Linked DNA regions of Homo sapiens: regions 1, 2, 3 and 4 are each linked to region 5. The links are contacts of gene promoters, found by promoter capture Hi-C in blood cells and fetal thymus (Javierre and others, 2016). All regions are on one chromosome and are shown on one strand. Each heading gives the region's core, a stretch centred on a gene start or on the middle of the fragment in contact. The rest is flanking DNA. Distances are from core to core; before and after follow the strand shown.

Region 1 (2,700 bases), core at 39-2,538, 320 kb after region 5:
GAGGCAGGAGAATCACTTGAACCTGGGAGGTGGAGGTTGCCGGGAGCTGAGACCACGCCATTGTAGTCCAGCCTGGACTAAAAGAACGAATCTCCATCTCAAAAAAAAAAAAGAAAGAAAGAAATGGGATCTTACTGTGTTGCCCAGGCTGATTTTGAACTCCTAGGCTCAAACGATCGTCCTGCCTTGGCCTTCTAAAGTGTTGGGATGATAGGCATGAACCACTGTGCCTGGCCTCTACTTTCTTCCCGTGGCACTGATCACATAGTACTGAACTTGGTTGGCTGTTTTTCCCTCACTAACTTGAGGTTCATGAAAAAGTAGTATGGAGGAGTAGTGTGTAGTTGGTATTCAATAAATATTTGTTAAATGAATTAAGTGATTATAAAATGAAGCAGAAAATGAGGCCACACAGAGTGAGTAAAGAATCGTTGTACTACTCTCTTGAGGTTGGAATGAAAAATGAGTGGATATCTAAGAATTTCAGAAATTAAGAATTCTTTTGAGGCCAGGCGCAGTGGCTCAGGCCTGTAATCATAGCATTTGGGGAGGCCAAGGTGGGAGGGTTACTTGAGGCCAAGGGTTCAAGACCAACCTGGCCAACATAGTGAGACCCTGTCTCTAAAAAAGAAAAACAATTTTTTTTAAATTAAAAATAAAAAAAGAATTCTGTTGAATGGCTTTCCAGATTGAACCTTAGAGAATGGCCATTTTCTTGCTAATCATATATACTCTTTTTTTTTTTTTTTTTGAGACAGAGTCTCACTCTGTCTCCCAGGCTGGAGTGCAGTGGTGCAGTCTGCTGACTGCAACCTCTGCCTGCTGGGTTCAAGCCATTCTCGTGCCTCAGCCTTCTGAGTAGCTGGGACTATAGGTGTGCGCCACCACGCCTGGCTAATTTTTGTACTTTTAGTAGAGATGGGGTTTCACCATGTTGGCCAGGCTGGTCTTGAACTCCTGGCCTCAAGAGATCTGCCCGCCTCAGCCTCCCAGAGTGTTGGGATTACAGGTGTGAGTCACCACACCTGGCCTCATGTACTCCTGACTGGTCTGTGTGGGCAGGCACATTCACCCCTTGGCTTAATTCTTTAAGAATCTTGCAGGGGTTGGTAAACACTATTCAGGGTCCCAGGAGAGGACAGACCTTTTTGACCAAACCAGTGGCAGAAATAGAATGGACTTTGGTTTAGTGTCACTGGAAAAGGGGCCAATGCTTTGAAAGCAAGCATGTCAAGTATTTCGAGAAAATAGGTTTCATTCTAAAACAGCTGTTTGAGCAATTGGACAATCAAATGTAGTCATTAGTCTAATTTTGAGCATCATGAGGGTGAGGGAAACACTGTCCTTAAGAATGTTTATTGAAGCCCAAGGGATAAGGGGCTGAAGGGATACCACTGTTCTTTATTTTTCTCCTTATCCTGCCTGAGCTCTTGACCTCTATTTAATATCATGTTGTAAGTATTGTACCATAGGATAGAAGAGAACTGAGTACTAGGTAGCTATATTTAACTGTTGATTTTTGTGGACAGTTTAAGAGAGCATGAACCCACAGAAATTAAAAATTAGAAAAAAAGAACATGAAAATAGTTTGTAATTATTCTACTCTTGTAGATATTGGCTAGACATAGAACAAATGTTTCCCACTGCCCTGAGAATCTTTTTCTTTATCTCAGGTTCGCACTGCCCCTTGGAACACCACAAGGGCCTTCATTGCTGCCATGAAGGGCAAGTGTCTGCTAGAGGTGACTGGGGTGGCAGATCCCACGGGGTGTGGTGAAGGATTCTCCTATGTGAAGATTCCAAACAAACCAACACAGCAGAAGGTGAGATTGTGTTTATTTCTAGAATGAAAAAGTCAAGGGAGAAAGAAATGGGTGAGTGGAGGACTTGGAATGTAGTTAAGGTAGCAGAATGACTTAGATGCCTACTTAAAAGGAATTCAGGTTTTTAGGAGTCTCACTTTTTTTTGTTTGAGGTAGGATGATAAAGAACCGCAGCCAGTGAAGAAGACAGTGACAGGAACAGATGCAGACCTTCGTCGCCTTTCCCTGAAAAATGCCAAGCAACTTCTACGTAAATTTGGTGTGCCTGAGGAAGAGGTGAGTGTGGAAGTGGAAAATTTAGAGTATACTAGGGGCTTTGTATAGAGTTGGAATTGCTAGGAGGCAGATGTAAAGAACTATCTGGGGAACTTTATTGTAGGGTATAGTAAGCTAAGTCTTAGATATTGTTTTAGGAGTTATCTTTCTATGTAATCTGCTTTGGGGTGATTTTTCTTTTTTGGTCTAACTGTGTACATTGGCTTGTCCTTTGAAATCCCTGAATGATTTGTGTGTGTGTGTGTGTGTGTGTGTGTGTGTGTGTGTGTGTATATTTATATTTGTGTGTGGCTATTTGTCTCGTAGATTAAAAAGTTGTCCCGCTGGGAAGTGATTGATGTGGTGCGCACAATGTCAACAGAACAGGCTCGTTCTGGAGAGGGGCCCATGAGTAAATTTGCCCGTGGATCAAGGTTTTCTGTGGCTGAGCATCAAGAGCGTTACAAAGAGGAATGTCAGCGCATCTTTGACCTACAGAACAAGTGGGTCGTTTTAGTGCTGCAGAAAATCCAAGCTGGAAAGGGGGAGGAGTTCCAGGCACTATTTCATAATAAAGAGGAGGTCACCTAAAAGTTTGACTACCTAGGTAGTCAGATATCTG
Region 2 (2,700 bases), core at 80-2,579, 480 kb after region 5:
TGGGCCTGTCTAGTAGATTAATGGATCTGGTTGGCCGTTTGCTGCGTCTAGGGGTGTTCTATGTAGCGCAGCAGTTCGCAGCGATTGCGCAGTGCGATGCTGTTAGGTTGCGCAAGCGATGTTTGCGCTCGCATTACAGGGACCTCAACCTAGGTGCAATCCTGTCATGTGAGGTTTCAGCTTCAGTCCTCCTTGGGAGACGGGGCATTGTGAGAATGTAACTTAAAGCCTGGCTTTATGATATCCTACTTGGCAGAAAGACATTTTTCTCCTCAGTAGCATAGTTTTGATGTTAGTGAGGAACATTGTTGAAGAGCAGCATTTCCCAAAATGTGTTTCATAGTATTCTAATAAAATGCCCAATGAAAGAAGAGTTCCATGGTCAACTAAGTTCAGGGAACCCTGTTACACTATTAAAGGCTTAGGGAAGTCCAGTAAAGAAACCTATTTTCCGAATTTATTTGATCATGAACTCCTTTTTTTTTCAGCCATACCTCTTAACACCTCATAGAACACACTTTGGGAAACAGTGGGGGTAGGAAAACTCGGCCTCAAGTTGCGCCCTCTAGGTAGCACTTGAAAACATGACAAGGGCCCGTAGTTGTTTGGATAAGAGAACTCCAGCATAGAGCCTTATAGCAACTGACTTCCCAGTTAAGTCCCAGTGTAAGGGTTGGTCTTTGGTTGGCAGAACTGAACATGGTGGTTTGCACTTGGGTTCTGGTGGCGCAGGCGCAGGAGCAGCCAGCTGTGGCAGCGCATTAGTTTTGGCGCAAGCGAGCCTATGCTGCAGGGTCACTTTTGGCTGGTCAGAGAAGGAATAATGATATCACCTTCTTCCCCCCCTCCCCCCAATCTTTTTTTTTTCCCTTTACAAATTTTCCCCTTTCCCTTTACCTCCTTTCCCTCCCATCTTCTTTCATTAACCCCTCCTAAGGCATGTTATTTGAAAGCAATTGAGACGCAACCGAACTTTGCAGTAGCTTGGAGTAATCTTGGCTGTGTTTTCAATGCACAAGGGGAAATTTGGCTTGCAATTCATCACTTTGAAAAGGTTAGTCATTAAATTAATAATTGGTATTTTTGAAGTGCTTACGCATGTAGTGTTTTTACTAGAACTAAATAATAGGTCTTAGCCAGTGACATTATATCTTTGTTTCTCTGGCGGTATAGGCAGTATGTGACTTACAGAGAACAATGATTTGACTTAAATATTTTTTCAACTTGACAATGGTGCAAAAGACATACATATTCAATAGAAATCATACTTCGAGTACCCATGCAGCCATTCTGGTTTTCCCTTTCAGTACAAGATTCAGTAAATTACATGAGATGCCCAACACACTATTATAAAATAAGAAGGAGGCTGAGGCAGGAGGATCACTTGAGCCCAGGAGTTTGAGGCTGCAGTGAGCTGTGACCATGCCACTGTACTTAGCCTGAGTGACAGAGTGAGACCCTGTCTCTAAGATTAAAAAATAAAAAGGTACCATAAAGACACATGCATGCGTATGTTCATCACTTCACAATAGCAAAGACATGGAATCAACCTAGATGCCCATCAACGGTGGGCTAAAGAAAATGTACATATATGCCATGGAATACCATGTAGCCATCAAAAATGAAATCATGTCCTTTGCAGCAACATGGATGCAGCTGGAGTTTATTATCTTAAGTGAATTAATGCAGGAACAGAAAACCAAATATTGCATGTTCTCACAAGTGGGAGCTAAGCATTGGGTACACATGGACACAAAGGGGAACAATAGACAGTGGGGCTTACTTGAGGGTGGAGGGTGGGAGGAGTGTGAGGGTACAAAAACTACTTACCAGGTACTATGTTCACTACCTGAGTGACAAAATCATTTGTATACCAAATTGCTGTGACACAATTTACCCATTTAACAAACCTGCATGTGTACCCCAAACCTAAAATAAATGTTGGAATTAAAATAAAACTCATATTAAAGTTTTAAAAAAGGGCTTTGTATTAGGTAATTTTACCTAAACGTAGGCTAATGTGTTCTGAGCATGTTTAAAATGAGACTAGCCGGGCCAGGTGTGATAGCTCACATCTGTGATCCCAGTGCTTTGGGAGGCCGAGGCGGGCAGATTGCTTGAGCTTAGGAGTTGAAAACCAGCCTGGACAACATAACGAGACCCTGTCTCTACAAAAATGAGCTGGGTGTGGCAGTGTGCTCCTGTAGTCCCAGCCATTTGTAGGGCTGAGGTGGGAGGATTGCTTGGGCCTGGGAGCTGGAGGTTGCAGTGAACCAAGATTGCACCACTGCACTCCAGCCTGGGTGACAAAGTGAGGCCCTGTCTCAAAAAAAAAAAAAAAAAAAAAAAAAAAATTAGGCTAAGCTAGGATGTTCACTAAGTGTTACAGATGCATTTTGACTTAAGATATTTTCAACTTATGATGGGTGTATCGGGACATAACCCCATCCTAAGTTGAGAAACATCTTTATTGCAGCATTTGCTGGATAGTACATGGTATGGCAGTTTCCAATTTTGTGTTGAAAATGTACTTTAGGCTGCGTGCTGTGGCTCACACCTGTAATCCAGCACTTTGCGAGGCTGAGGTGGGAGGATTGCTTGAGCCTAGTAGTTTGAGACCAGCCTGGGCAACATAGTAAGACCCTGTCTCTACAAAAAATACAAAAAGTAGCTATGCGTGGTGACACACACACAGCTACT
Region 3 (2,700 bases), core at 32-2,531, 270 kb after region 5:
ATTGTAGAAGTATTTTTCCCCTTCATTTCTGTCAATTTTTGGCTTATATATTTTGGAACTCTGTTATTAGGTGCTGCTATGATTTGGTCCCCACCAACACTCATGTTGAAATTTGATCATCAGTGTGGCCATGTTGGGAGGTGGGGCCTAGTGTTTGGCTCATGGAGGGGGATGGAGATCCCTCTTGAATGGCTTAGTATCATTCTTATGGTAGTGAGTGAGTTCCTGCTCTGGTGAGACTGGATTAGTTCTTGCTGGAATGGATTAATTTCCATGAAAATGGATTGTTATAAAATCAGGATGCCCCTCAACTTTTGTTTGTTCACAGGTGTCTGTTTCCACTTTGACCTTCTCTGCCATGTTATGATGTAGCATGAAACCCCTTGCCAGAAGCCAGGGCCATGCCCTTAAACTTCCCAGCCTACAAAACTGTGAGCTAAATACCTTTTTTGTTTATAAATTACTCAGTCTTGAGTATTCTGTTATAGCAACTCAAAATGGACTAAGACAGGTGTATACATGTTTATAATTGTTATATCTTCTTGCTGTATAAACCTTTTATCAATATTTAATGTCCTTTGTCTAAACTTTTTTGGTGTAAAGCCTATTTTGTCTGACAATAATGTAGTCACCACAGCTCTCTTTTGATTACTATTTGCATGCAGTATCTTTCCCAATCTTTTTACTTTCAATCTCTTTGTGTCCTTATATCTAACATGAGACTCTTATGGACAGTATATAGATGGATCTTTTTAAAAATCTAACCTGCTAATTTCTGCCTTTTACTAGGAGAGTTTAATCCATGTATACATAATGTGAATACTGATAAAGAGGGATTTACTTTTGCCATTTATCTATTTGTTTCTTTTTTTTTTTTTGAGATGGAGTCTCGCTCTGTCACCCAGGCTGGAGTGCAGTGGTGTGGTCTCGGCTCACTGCAAGCTCCACCTCCTGGGTTCACGCCATTCTCCTGCCTCAGCCTCCCGAGTAGCTGGGACCACAGGCACCCGCCACCACGCCCGGCTAATTTTTTGTATTTTTAGTAGAGATGGGGTTTCACCATGTTAGTCAGGATGGTCTCTATCTCCTGACCTCGTGATCCGCCCGCCTCAGCCTCCCAAAGTGCTGGGATTACAGGTGTGAGCCACCGTGCCCGGCCATCTATTTGTTTCTTTATGTCTTGTATGGGTTTCGTTCCTCAGTTCTTCCATTACTGCCTTTTAAAAATTTAGTTGTTTTTTTGGTGGTGTACCATTTTGATTCCCTTCTTCTTTCCTTCTCTATATGTTAAGGTTTTTTTCTTAGTGGTATTTCCAGTCTAGTGGCTCACACTCAATAATCTCAGCACTTTGGGAGGCTGAGGTGGGAGAATCAATTGAGGCCAGCAGTTTAAGACCAGCCTGGGCAATATCATAGTGAGACCTGTCTCTAAAAAAAAAAAAAAAAATATCCCTTTGTCTTTGGCTTTCAACAATTTGACTGTAATGTGTCTTGATGTGGATCTCTTTGTTTATCCTGCTTGGAGTTTAACTGTTGAACATGTATATTCGTGTCTTTTCTCAGATTTGAGAAGTTTTTGGCCATTATTTCTTCGAGTATTTTTTCTGGCTAGGTGTGGTGGTTCATGCCTATAATCCCAACACTTTGGGAGGCCAATGCAGGAGGATTGCTTGAGGTCAGGAATTCAAGACCAGCCTGGCCAACATAGTAAGGCCCTATCCCTACAAAAAATTTAAAAATTATGGCCGGGCATGGTGGCTCATGCTTGTAATCACAGCACTTTGGGAGGCTGAGGCAGGTGGATCACCTGAGGTCAGGAGTTCACGACCAGCCTGGCCAACATGGTAAAACCCCGTCTCTACTAAAAATACACACACACACAAAAATTATCCGGGCGTAGTGGCAGGTGCCTGTAATCACAGCTGCTCAGGAGGCTGAGGTAGGAGAATTGCTTGAACCTGGGAGGCGGAGGTTGCAGTGAGCCAAGATTGTGCCATTGCACTCCAGCCTGGGTAACAAGAGCAAAACTCCATCTCAAAAAAAAAAAAAAATTAAAAAATTAGATATGGTGGCATATGCCTGTAGTCCCAGCTACTCAGGAGGCTGAGGCAGGAGGATCATTTTGAGCCACGGAGTTCGAGGCTGCAGTGAGCTATGATTGCACCACCACACTCCAGCCTGGGTGACAGAGTGAGACCCTGTCTCTAAAACTATATACATACACCTTCCTTCTTTTGAAACTGTATACCTATATACATATACCTATCTTCTTTTGAAACTATATACGTATATATAGTTTTAGATATAATTAAATATATGTATATATATTTCTTTTTTTTTTTTCTTTTTGAGATGGAGTCTCACTCTGTCACCCAGGCTGGAGTGCAGTGGCATGATCTCGGCTCACTGCAACCTCCGCCCTCCAAATTCAAGCGATTCTCCTGCCTCAGCCTCCCAAGTAGCTGGGATTACAGGCGCCTGCCACCGTGCCCAGCTAATTTTTTGTATTTTTAGTAGAGACAGGGTTTCACCATCTTGGCCAGGCTGGTCTTGAACTCCTGACCTCGTGATCCACCCGCCTTGGCCTCCCAAAGTGCTGGGATTGTAGGCACGAGCCACCACGCCCGCCCTGTATATGTATATTTCTATACATACAAATAAATATTTGTATATGTATTTCTTTTTTATTTTTATTTTTAT
Region 4 (2,700 bases), core at 160-2,659, 460 kb after region 5:
AGACAACAATTTTCATTTGAAAAATTTCATTCAGGCAGGGTGAGGTGGCTCACACCTGTAATCCCAGCACTTTGGGAGGCTGAGGCAGGCAGATCACCTGAGGTTAGGACTTTGAGACCAGCTTGGCCAACATAGCGAAACCCCGTCTCTACTAAAAATACAAAAATTAGCTGGGTGTGGTGGCACGTGCCTGTAATCCCAGCTACTCGGGAGTCTGAGGCAGGAGAATTGCTTGAACCTGAGAGGCGGAGGTTGCAGCAAGGTGAGATCGTGCCACTGCACTCCAACCTGGGCAACAGGAGCCAAACTCCGTCTCAAAAAAAAAAAAAAAAAAGAAAAGAAAAATTTCATTCAACTTTACTTTACTTGGGATTGAATACATATGAAATGTGCTTTCAATACATAAAAATCATAGTGGACAGCAGCAAAGGAGTGGGAGTAGCAGTGGAGGAGGAGTTGCGGCAGATTAAGGAGAATCTGAGAATTCCTATTGTAATTATTTTGGAAATTGATAAAGATAATTCACACTTCTAAGAACTCAAGACTTTACTTTTTAAAGGACCAAAATAAACTCAAGACACCTTGCCAACACTTCCCCACCTCTCAACAAATTGATTACTCTTTTACACATAAAACTGAAACAGTTATGGCATCAAAATTGATAGCAACGAAAGTTTGTAAAACTGTATTTCAGTCTCTTTTTCTTGATTCCAAAGTGCAAGATGCAGGGTTTTCATAATCCTTTAGCAATGCTTCTCCTGTAAATAAGCCTTCATTTTGTTTGGCAAAGGCAGTTTTTGAAATAAGTCTATTCTGGTATGCTGACATAAAACAAATGTCATGGGTGCTGCAAAGAACAAAACTGTATGAATTGTAGTATTGGATTGGTCAGTCTTACAGGGTAAATTGCAGATCCAGGTAACCGAGACCTTCAATAAGAAAAAACTCTATTTTCCAGAGTCCCTGGTTGAATGTTCAATTAGATCAACTAATTGTCCTTTCACATCTGGTTGCTCATAAAAGCAAAACCTACCATTCGAGTGTTCAATTCTAGTGTGAAGTGTTTTACCATGGGAGCAAAAGCTTGAGCTTGAAAGATAACAGTCATTATGGCTATCTGGGACAAGAAAAAAACCATCTAGCACATTTGCTCACTTTTCTTCTGCCTGTCAGTGTATGATTGCCCCCAGCACCATTATTATTTTGCAGGTTTTTTCAGCTCCTCTGTAAGGCTTGTCACAACCATAGTGTCACTACTTTGGACAGAATCATCAACTCTTGCAACCCCAGGAGGACAGTCAGGATTAGAATTCAAATGACAGTGGGTACTTTCAGACACACACATAGACAACTGCACCTGTGAGTCCACAGAAGTTCCTTTAGATTCTGTATTGGAGGTAGTAATGATGAAAGTGTCTTCAGGAATGTCTTCATGGCTTGCTCTTGGGCTCTGCATTGTAACTCCTTACAGGTACCAATGAACAAGCCATTCAGAGATGGATCCACAAAGATCTCTGGAGCAACGACCAGGTCCTGCTCTACCCGATTCTCAGCTTTGGGGATAGAATTCCCAGAAACATCTGTGTCCGGAGTTGGTTCCTTCCAGTGGGTTCTTGGTCTTGCTGACTTCAAGAATGAAGCCGTGGACCTTCGCGGTGAGTGTTACAGCTCTTTAAAGGTAGCACAGACCCAAAGAGTGAGCGGCAGCAAGATTTATTGTGAAGAGCAAAAGAACAAAGCTTCCATAGCGTGAAAGGGTACCCAAGCAGGTTGCCAGTGGGGCTGGGGGCGGCCAGCATTTATTCCTTTATTTGTCCCCGCCCACATCCTGCTGATTGGTCCATTTTACAGAGTGCTGATTGGTCCATTTTACAGAGTGCTCTTTGGTGTTTTTACAATTCTTTAGCTAGACACAGAGCGCTAATTGGTGCATTTTACAGAGTGCTGATTGGTGCATTTACAATCCTTTAGCTAGAAACAGAGCGCTGATTGGTGCGTTTTGTTTTTGTTTTTTTTTTTGAGACAGAGTCTCGCTCTGTCGCCCAGGCTGGAGTGCAGTGGTGCAATCTCAGCTCACTGCAACCTCCGCCTCCTGGGTTCATGCCATTCTCATGCCTCAGCCTCCCAAGTAGCTGGGACTACAGGTGCCCGCCACCACGCCTGACTAATTTTTTGTATTTTTAGTAGAGACGGGGTTTCACCATGTTAGCCAGGATGGTCTCCATCTCCTGACCTCATGATCTGCCTGCTTCAGCCTCCCAAAGTGCTGGGATTACAGGTGTGAGCCACTGCACCTGGCTGGTGCATTTTTACAGAGTGCTGATTGGTGCATTTACAATCCTTTAGCTAAACACAGAGTGCTGATTGGTGCGTTTTACAATCTTCTTGTAAGACACAAAAGTTCTCCAAGTCCCCACCCAACCCAGAAGTCCAGCTGGCTTCACCACTCACTTCCATGGGAGAACTGTCCAGACAATAGCATGACACCCTTGCAAAGGATAAAGCCTCTCATCTAAAGGCATAGAATACTGAATATAGTCTTGAGGCATAAGTCCAATAAGTACAGGCACATGTTCCTTGAAGTGAAGATGCAAGTCTCCATTCTGAAATTTTGAACTCTTTACTTTGTTCTTTGTATGCAGCTTCAGGCTGAAGATAGTGAAAATCCGTGCCAGACTTGGATTGGAAGAATGAACCAAG
Region 5 (2,700 bases), core at 101-2,600:
CTTCAACAATGAAAGCACATACACTCTTTTAGTTCTTCAATGCTGTTTGAGCAGGATGCTGTCCACAGAGAATATTCTGGCCTTTTAGTCTGAGAAGAAAACATAAGGAAAACTAGAAAATGATTCTCAAACTGTTTTGCCTATAACCACTTCAAGTGGGCAAAAGATCCTGCAAACCAAGTACTCTATCTGCACATTCCATCCTTGCATTATGGGCTAAGCACTAGAGAGTAAAGTCCTCTATCATGCATGCTGGAAGAAGCCACTCCTGGGCAATTCTGAAATGTCATGTATTAAAGTAACTACAGACCAGGGTCAGAATCCAAAAGGGTAATCTAGGACAGAAAGGGCAAAAAGCCATTCATATACAAAGTACCTAAACGAGAGTCAATAAATACTGAAATAAACATTCTGGATACTTCAAATCTAAAGGATCCACATAGAATGAAAGCAGTGACTGACAAGGCACCAATCCCAGGGCCAGGCCAGGTTTCAAGGCGAGACAGCACGTAGTATCTGCGAAAACTTAAGCATAAAACATTTCTCTCCTTCAGATGCTGATCCGACACAAGTTAGGAAAGCGCTCGGTCTCAAGGAGACTCCCTTTCTTATTTCTGCTCCCACAAGCCTACTGTCTGCCTTTTCTGGAATCTACCTTCCCTTTAATTCAAGGCTTTGCTTTACTCCATTATCCCAGGGAGACCTCATTAGAAAGCAGCCGGCCTTCCTGCCCTCCCTCTTCAGACTTCTCACAACCTAGTTTAGTTATGGAGCTCAGCGATATATCGCCTTGGCTTTCCATCCCCCAGCCCTCTTCCATCCTCCCTCCCTTCCTTCAGTCGCTACAGCCGTGATTCCTATCTCCTTGAATTCCTCACTCTAATCTTTTTCCATCCACCCCACCCTATCCAGCCATGCTTCACTTCCTCATGGGTAGCTTTCCTGCATCCCCGTCCGATGTCTCCCTCAGGAGTTTTCTGCATCCTCCGGCCACAACTGAATCGGCAGACCTCGTTCCAAGCCTATTATACCCCTAACCCCCAAATGACCCCTAAGGCGTCTTCCCCGCCGTTAGTTGCCCCCGCGGTAGCCTCCCTCCCCCCTCCCGCTCGCGCCGCCCGGTCCTCCCTCAGCTGTCTCCCTCACCCCGTGACTCACCCGCATGCGAACCTCATAGGTGGTGAAGCGCGCGCGTCCCACGCCCACCGTCTGAGGATTAAAGATGTCGATCTCCAGGAAGTTACTTGGCGGCCCGTAAGCGTCGGTCAGGTCCTGCGGCTTCGAGTTAAGGCGCCGGGTATCAGCTACTGCCGTGTCCGACATCTTTCCGAAGGAGAGCCTGGGACCGGGGAAAGGGGGTGGGGGACAGAGGCCTGAGGCAGGAGCGCGCACGGCCCCTCCCGCTTGCAAAATAACTAGCCAACCCACAGGCGGCGGCGGCGCGCACGCGCGCCCACGCACGCACGCGCACGCCGCACGGGCCTGGGCCCCGGGCTCTGAATAGCGGCCGTGCTGACTGCTGCGCGCCCTGTAGAGTGGAGGCCATATTCAGGCTTCCGGGTGATGTTTGTGGCCACCCGGGAACCTGCATCCCCAATACGCAGTACCCAATACCCTGCCTAGCAGCACAGGCTGGCTCCGCCAATCGCGGCTCCTCAACCCAAGAAATTGTCTCGTACCGTGTATCAATCAACAGTGGGCACTGCCCCGTGAGCCAGGCTCCTACAGTGATAGGCCGAAGCCCAGTGACCTGAATAAGTCCTGGTTTTCCGCGAAAATAGAAGGGTGGTCTATGGAGGGTGGGGTTCCAACAATAGTACTGAGAACCTATAACGTAGCCGTCCCACCTGTGCCACTGATGGTTTCAGTTCACGCCACACACAATGGCGCACTCAGCACTACGTATGGCGCCAGGAAAGCAGCAAGCAACTAGGATGGGGTAAAGAAAGACATTTCTCTCTTACTTTTCAGGAAAATTGGGCATATCTTACTCCTTGTTGCCACACTCCAGGTGTACTCAATCTTACATTTATCAGCAAATTGAGGGTACTTATTTCATACCTTCTATTTCTACTCCGCAGAACTCCATACTTGGCACTGCTCTGAGGTTGCTTGCAACCCATAATGGAGATAGAATAAATGTTTACATGAGAATATCTATAGAAATATTAATATTTATATGACTAATTTACATATGCTCCACATTAAAGGGTAGACTGGGTGATGATTTCAGGTCATCCTTTCTCCACCTTTCCCCTGCCCTCCTCTACTCAAAAAATATTTCCCATATCACTGATGCCTGAAATTCTTTCAACAGAGTATGAGGCCCTACAATTTCACAATTGCTGTTTAATTCAATTTAACCAATATCCACTAAGCAAATACGTGCCAAGCACCATGCTAAACACTAAAATCCTGGAGTTAAATAAGAGTCCCTGCCCTCAAGGAGTTAACATTCTAGCAAGGGAGACAAGTAAACAAAACTAATATAATGCGACAAATACAAAATAAGTAAATGTTCAAAGCAGCACATAGGAAATGTATAACTGGAAAAATTAGGGGAGGTTCCCCTGGAGGAGGAAACATCTGAGTTTAACAGACATGAAAAGACATAAAGGACAAATAGGAGTGGAAATAGGGAAAGGTAATTTCTGGAATAAGAAACAGCATATGCAGGCCGGGCGCGGTGGCTCACACCTG

The links. The method cuts DNA at HindIII sites, captures the fragments that hold promoters and counts their contacts. A CHiCAGO score of 5 or more calls a contact.
Region 1: a contact is called between a fragment that was not itself captured here and the fragment with the promoter of SNX12 in region 5, in 2 of 17 cell types (non-activated CD4 T cells and naive B cells). The highest score is 5.4, in non-activated CD4 T cells.
Region 2: a contact is called between a fragment that was not itself captured here and the fragment with the promoter of SNX12 in region 5, in 3 of 17 cell types (neutrophils, naive B cells and total B cells). The highest score is 8.2, in neutrophils.
Region 3: a contact is called between a fragment that was not itself captured here and the fragment with the promoter of SNX12 in region 5, in 1 of 17 cell types (non-activated CD4 T cells). The highest score is 5.3, in non-activated CD4 T cells.
Region 4: a fragment that was not itself captured here is called in contact with the fragment with the promoter of SNX12 in region 5 in 1 of 17 cell types (fetal thymus); the score reaches 5.9 in fetal thymus.

What each region holds. Positions count from the first base shown.
Region 1 is chrX:71,390,896-71,393,595 of GRCh38, forward strand. TAF1 (TATA-box binding protein associated factor 1) reads left to right here. Exons shown (of 38, transcript NM_004606.5): 19 at 1,674-1,823; 20 at 1,980-2,099; 21 at 2,406-2,581. Among named protein-coding and RNA genes, the nearest start is that of TAF1, 26 kb to the left of the region's middle. The HindIII fragment of the contact is 3,497 bases long and covers 1-2,700 here.
Region 2 is chrX:71,546,970-71,549,669 of GRCh38, forward strand. It overlaps OGT (O-linked N-acetylglucosamine (GlcNAc) transferase), which reads left to right. Exons shown (of 22, transcript NM_181672.3): 5 at 938-1,054. Among named protein-coding and RNA genes, the nearest start is that of OGT, 15 kb to the left of the region's middle. The HindIII fragment of the contact is 3,213 bases long and covers 1-2,700 here.
Region 3 is chrX:71,337,983-71,340,682 of GRCh38, forward strand. No RefSeq gene overlaps it. Among named protein-coding and RNA genes, the nearest start is that of TAF1, 27 kb to the right of the region's middle. RefSeq lists an enhancer at 2,652-2,700. The HindIII fragment of the contact is 9,485 bases long and covers 1-2,700 here.
Region 4 is chrX:71,527,071-71,529,770 of GRCh38, forward strand. It overlaps a transcript of TAF1 not described here and the pseudogene SOCS6P1. Among named protein-coding and RNA genes, the nearest start is that of OGT, 4.7 kb to the right of the region's middle. The HindIII fragment of the contact is 656 bases long and covers 1,082-1,737 here.
Region 5 is chrX:71,066,984-71,069,683 of GRCh38, forward strand. It overlaps SNX12 (sorting nexin 12), which reads right to left and starts at 1,351. Exons shown (of 4, transcript NM_013346.4): 1 at 1,159-1,351. The coding sequence starts at 1,323. RefSeq lists silencers at 1,314-1,507, 1,347-1,566. The HindIII fragment of the contact is 9,631 bases long and covers 1-2,700 here.